2 separate regions of the Homo sapiens genome follow, and region 2 is linked to region 1. Evidence: promoter capture Hi-C in 16 types of primary human blood cells and fetal thymus (Javierre and others, 2016). All regions are on one chromosome and are shown on one strand. Each heading gives the region's core, a stretch centred on a gene start or on the middle of the fragment in contact. The rest is flanking DNA. Distances are from core to core; before and after follow the strand shown.

What was found. Contacts are between HindIII fragments. The CHiCAGO score rates a contact against its expected background, and 5 or more counts as called.
Region 2: a fragment that was not itself captured here is called in contact with the fragment with the promoter of SNHG25 in region 1 in 3 of 17 cell types (non-activated CD4 T cells, total CD8 T cells and naive B cells); the score reaches 6.6 in non-activated CD4 T cells.

The regions. Positions count from the first base shown.
Region 1 is chr17:64,144,484-64,147,454 of GRCh38, forward strand. It overlaps SNHG25 (small nucleolar RNA host gene 25), which reads left to right and starts at 1,487. Exons shown (of 2, transcript NR_132278.1): 1 at 1,487-1,517; 2 at 1,747-1,826. It overlaps SNORD104 (small nucleolar RNA, C/D box 104), which reads left to right and starts at 1,595; the gene lies at 1,595-1,674. It overlaps SNORA50C (small nucleolar RNA, H/ACA box 50C), which reads left to right and starts at 1,856; the gene lies at 1,856-1,988. TEX2 (testis expressed 2) reads right to left here. Exons shown (of 12, transcript NM_001288732.2): 12 at 2,744-2,971. RefSeq lists enhancers at 1,174-1,728, 1,706-1,915. The HindIII fragment of the contact is 1,672 bases long and covers 739-2,410 here.
Region 2 is chr17:63,618,998-63,621,968 of GRCh38, forward strand. No RefSeq gene overlaps it. Among named protein-coding and RNA genes, the nearest start is that of MAP3K3, 1.9 kb to the right of the region's middle. RefSeq lists a silencer at 2,661-2,730. The HindIII fragment of the contact is 210 bases long and covers 1,440-1,649 here.

The DNA of each region.
Region 1 (2,971 bases), core at 237-2,736:
TAGGTCACAAAGAAAACTTTCATACATTGCCCAATGCGGAAACTGTACCATAATGTAATAAATGTTGAGATAACGAAAGTTAAAACAGCAACAAAAATAAATAGAGACTACTAAACACTTGTCAAAGTCATTATTGCTTTGGATTAAAGAGGTTTTTTTTTTTTTTTTTGAGATGGAGTCTCGCTCTGTTGCTCAGGTTAGAGTGTAATGGCGCGATCTCAGCTCATTGCAACCTCCGCCTCCCGGGTTCAAGCGATTCTCCTGCCTCAACCTCCTGAGTAGCTGGGATTACAGGGGCCTGCCACCACGCCCGGCTAATTTTTGTATTTTTAGTAGAGACAGGGTTTCGCCATGTTGGCCAGGCTGTTCTTGAACTCCTGACCTGATCCATCCGCCTCCGTCTCCCAGAGTGCTGGGATTACAGGCGTGAGCCACCGCGCCCGGCCAAAGAGGAATTTTTTGAATTTAAAGTCTATATAGAAAATAAGGAAAATAAGAGCCCATTCAACTACAAACCCATAGGGTGAAATGATTTCACTGTCACATACACACACACACACAAAACAATAAATTTTCCGTATTAAGAGGAAAAAAAGGAAAAGAATTCCCAAGGAAAACAGGGAGGCAATAAAGATAACCGGCGACTGTGACTGCTGGTGTACTGTGTCCTCCCCCAGTTAAGCAAACTATCATTCATCCACCTGTATGTCCGGGGAACAGGCTCAATCAACTCTGCGAAGCTTTCCCAAAGTCAGGCTTTCTGTCCTTTGGGCTTCTACAGTAGGCTGTTCATAGCGCTATGTTAGTATTTATTAAAGTTTTGCAATCCCAGGAAGTTTTTCACATCACTCTGCCCTTTAAATACCTTTGTTTACCACTTAGAATGTGCCAGGCAATTGGCATTAATTCACCGAATCCTTACAATTTTTTTTTTTCGCGGTGTGTGTGTGTTGGGGGGGGGCGGCGGGGGGGTATTCCTAATTTCCAGAAACTGAATCTCAGAAAGGTTAACTGAGCAAGGTCACAGAGCGAACGCATCACAAAGTCAGGATGTGGTGCAGATCGGTCCATTTTCAATACAAGCTCTTTCTACCACGACAGGTTATTTTGCACTTGGGGACAGTTTTTAACTTTCCATTCTCAACTCCTATCCTAGCTCCTGGCACAGAACATGTCATCCAAGTTAGGCATCATCGTCGCCTGCTCTTGGTGAAGTTTTCTTTTGCGTACTGCGGAGAGATGCGCTCATTACCAGCTGGCGGTGGAGTCGCTGAAACGCAAATGGATTTGAGACTGAGCGACTCCCATCTCTATGGTTGGTATGTGACCCATCTATCCTCTGGAGGACTCAGCAAGGACTACCAGTCACCAGACAACTTTACGCGCACGTGGTCGCAAGGTGAACTTGCTATTGGTTAATGGCAGTAAAGCCCGCCCATCAGCGCTGGTCTGCTCCTTTAAAAGAACGCCATCGACGCTCCCCTGTCTTTCAGCGCCTGCAGGTTCCGGGAGGTCAGGTTGTATTCCTGGCGGGTCGTCTGGCTGGGTGGGCCCCGGAGGTCGTGGCTCGGGAGCAGGGAGGCGTAGGGGGGCCGGCCTGCTGTGATGACATTCCAATTAAAGCACGTGTTAGACTGCTGACGCGGGTGATGCGAACTGGAGTCTGAGCCTGCCCGAGCGGAGCTGGGAGGGGGCTGGCGGGCGGGCGCGCGCACACCCGCTGATCTATCACTCTCGTTCTTGTAGCTCCCAGCCGAGGACGTCGGATGTCATCGTCCTTGCTGCTTTGCCACCCCATTCCCGTCAATAAAGTGGTTTGAACCCAACCCTGGTGTCGGTGTGTGTCGTTGGCGACGCGCTGTCTTTGAGCCCCCGCCGAGCTTCCTCGTGGCGCCGGGGGTCAATCTGCAGCGCTAGAGCATGTGCTTGCGCATAACTGGGGCCGCCTGGCCTCCCGCGGGCGGCCTTTTTAACCGCGAGCGACAAGAAGTAACCTGACTGTCCGGCTGCTAGGCTGGGCAATTTTCCAGCTGTTTTGCCACGACAGGCCTCAATCCGTAATACCAAGGCTGGAATGGCGTGTTAGGGGGGCGGTGGCTGACGGGGATACGCGGACTCTTGATGCGTAAGGAGTGCCCCTCTGCTCCCATACGTTCCCCAGCCCAGCCTTCCCTGAGTGTATCGCGCGCGCTGTGCCTTCGCCGTGAGTTCGACATAAGTCCCAGGCTGTCGCGTCTGCCATCAGACGCGCAGATTTAGTTGAAGGCAGCGTGGAATGGCGTCTGCAGGGCTGTTGTGTACTTGACATAAACAGATTCGGTGTGGAACTGCATTGAGTTAACTCCTGACTAAAGGGTAATCGACCTGTTTACAAATAACCATGCAGGAGTACTGACAAGCATGGGACTAAAGCTTTGGGCAGGTTAATCTGTCACTCCTAAACAGTTCAAAATTATAGGGCGGTTGTGAAGGTGAATTAGATTTTATATATGGTTGGGGACAACATAGACACCTAGTTACACAGTCCAGATTCAGTGATTGGTAAAAGATCTTCCACAAGGGCTCCAGTGAAAGGTGCATCAGTTCTGAGTACAGGGCAGCAATGGTGGGCAAGGATGCACGTATGCGTTCACTACATGGACATTCGATGAATGAAGGTGTCCCGAATTAACATTATACTAGACAATGAAGGGTGTAAACTGCAGCCCAGGAGCACCACTGCCCTACCCCCTCAGTTACGAACTTTCACTGGATTCTTTAAATGTGGGCTGAAGATAATGGCACATAGTTTGAAGGATGTAGTGAGGATGGCTTTGTAGCCTTAGGACTGGGCAGTGATCAACGCAGTAAATGAAAGCTGCGATTGCCAGGTGAGGGCCCCGGTGCTCTGTACTCATTTTATTGTGCCCCTATCTGAACAGGATTCCGTAGAAATGACTTAGATGCTTATCTAGTATTTGACATTGAGATA
Region 2 (2,971 bases), core at 295-2,794, 530 kb before region 1:
AGGGTTTCACTCTATTGCTCAGGCTGGAGTGCAGTGGCACAATCTCGGCTCACTGCAACCTCCGCCTTCTAGGTTCAAGCGATTCTCCTGCCTCAGCCTCCAAGTAGCTAGGATTACAGGCCACCACACCTGGCTAATTTTTATATTTTTAATAGAGATGGGGTTTCACCATATTGGCCAAGCTGGTTTCGAACTCCTGACCTCAGGTGATCCACCTGCCCTGGCCTCCCAAAGCGCTGGGATTACAGGTGTGAGCCACTGCGTCCGACCTGATTCAGATACATTTTGAAGTGGGAGCTGAAAAGATTTGCTGCATGTTTGGATATATGGGTGTCAGGGAGAGAGAATAATCAAGGAACACTCCTAGGTTTGTACAGAGGGTCTCTGACTTACTATGGTTCGGCTTATACCTTTTTTTTTTTTTTTTTTTTTTGAGATGGAGTTTTGCTTTTGTTGCCCAGGCTGGAGTGCAATGGCATGATCTTGGCTCACTGCAACCTCTGTCTCCCGGATTCAAGCAATTGTCCTGCCTCAGCCTCCCAAGTAGCTGGGATTACAGGTGTGCGCTACCACGCCCAGCTAATTTTTTATTTTTAGTAGAGATAGGGTTTTACCATGTTGGTCAGGCTGGTCTCGAACTCCTGACCTCAAGTGATCCACCCGCCTCAGCCTCCCAAAGTGCTGGGATTACAGGTGTGAGCCACTGTGCCCCGGCCTCAGCTTATGATTTTTGGCGTTATGATGGTTCAAAAGCAACACACAATTCAGTAGAAACTGTGCTTTGAGTACAACCATTCTGTTTTTCATTTTCAGTACAGTATTTGGTAAATTACATGAGCTATTCAAAACTTTCTTATAAAATAGGCTTTGTGTTAGATAATTTTGTCCAACTGTAGGCTAACTTAAGTGTTCGAGCACGCTTAAGATAGGCTTGGCTAAGCTATGATGTTCAGTAGGTCAGGTGTATTAAATGCATTTTCTACTTAACGATTGTTCATCTGATGGTTTATCTGGACATGGCCCCATGGTAAGTCGAGCAGCATCTGTGCTTTAGCAATTGGGAAAACAGAAAGGAGCATGGCAGCTCACACCTGTAATTCCAGCAATTTGGGAAGTTGAGGTGGGAGGATTGCTTGAGCCCAGGAGTTTGAGACCAGTTTGGGCAAAATGGTGGGACACCCCCAACTCTACAGAAAATTTTTTTTACAAAGGCTCTACTCTACCTGACAAAATCTTATTCCTTAGTATTTAATTTCTCTTCTTAGGGAGAATTTAAATTTAATTAAGTAATTTAAATTAAAATTTTTTCCTGGCAGGGGTGGATAATGAAAAAAAGGTTGAGAAACACTGGCCTAGTGCAAGAACATGGCCTTTGGGAGTCACACAGGCTTGGTATGAATCCTGGCTCCACTACTTGGACACAGTGCTTAACCTCTCTAAGCTTCACTTTCATCATTTAAATGCCCACAGTATTAGCATAATAACCTTAGAGTTATTGGAAAAATTAAATGCAATGACGTGCCTGTTATATTGATAAATACTAATTTTCTTTCCCCTTTATCCCCGCTTTCAAGAATAGAGATTATTATAGTTAAGGAACTCCAGTAAACTGGGTAGAGACCAAATCAAGTGGGAATATGGCAGGCTTAAGCTTGTTGGAAGAAAAAGAAAACAGGACAAGGGGGCTGATTAAATATACGGAGATGAGTGTAAAGAAATAAGGGAGGCTGCTTGCAGTGGCTCACGCCTGTAATCCCAGCACTTTGGGAGGCCGAGGCTGGCGGATCACCTGAGGTCTGGAGTTCGAGACCAGCCTGGACAACATGGCGAAACCCCGTCTCTACTAAAAATTCAAAAATTAGCCGGGCGTGGTGGCGCACGCCTGTTAATCCCAGCTACTTGAGAGGCTGAAGCAGGAGAATTGCTTGAACACGGGAGACGGAGGTTGCAGTGAGCCGAGATCGCGCCACTGCACTCCAGCCTGGACGACAGTGTGAGACTCCATCTCGAAAAATAAAAAAGAAAAAGAAAAGAAATAGGGGAGAGCCCAAGGTAATTCTTAAGGGATTTGACACTCAAGGCAAAGCCACCACTAAATGTTCTTAGTGGACAGTGGACAATGACATCTGAGGAAGATTATTCTGGAGCCTGACATATTACACTGGAACAGAGGCCGGAGAAAGGAGCCCACATTAATTGTGGTGGACTTGGAATCTGAAGATCTGAGTGTATAAAATGTTGAACAATGAAAAGGTTGGGGAAATTAATTATGGTGCCTTTAATTTTGAAACATCATGCAATCAGTACAATTGTTTTGGAAGGATATTTGGTGGCACGGGAAAACAGAATAAAATGTAAGCATACTACAAAACAATACAAAGCCATTTTTGTCAAACGCCTATCTAGGTAGGAAATAGATTATCTCTGGGGTGGGATCTTTTCTTTTTCATAGTTTTCTGCATTTTTCAATTTTCCTACAAAAAGCTCGTGTTGCTTTTATAAGAAAAAAGTTATTTTCTGAAAGAACCTCTGGCGGAACTCAGATTTCCAGGGACCCACATGCCAGCACTATCCCAGCCTCGGGTGTCTGAGGTACCTAGACCAGAGGGTGTGGCCCTGGAGGTGTGAGACAGGGAAAGCTGGGCTGGGCCGGCCGCCCCTGCCCGGGGCAAGAGCAGCGTCGGGACCGGAGGACCAGTCGGGGGATGGGGCCGCAGAGGTGGCCGCGCGCCGGGAAGTGCTCAGGCCAGACCCTCCCCACTCGTTACACGCCCTGTGCTGGGCACGGGGAGGAGCAGGACGCCACCCTCTGGAACCACCCAGATCGCTGGGGCCTCCGAGAACCCGGAGGGCGGAAGGCCTGAGGGCCCCCTGCAGCCGCCTACTCCTCACCCCAGCCCTAAAGTAGCCGGCGGGGAACTGCGCCAGCCCGCGCGCCCGCCGAGCCTTCGGTGACTGACGGGAGGTGGGA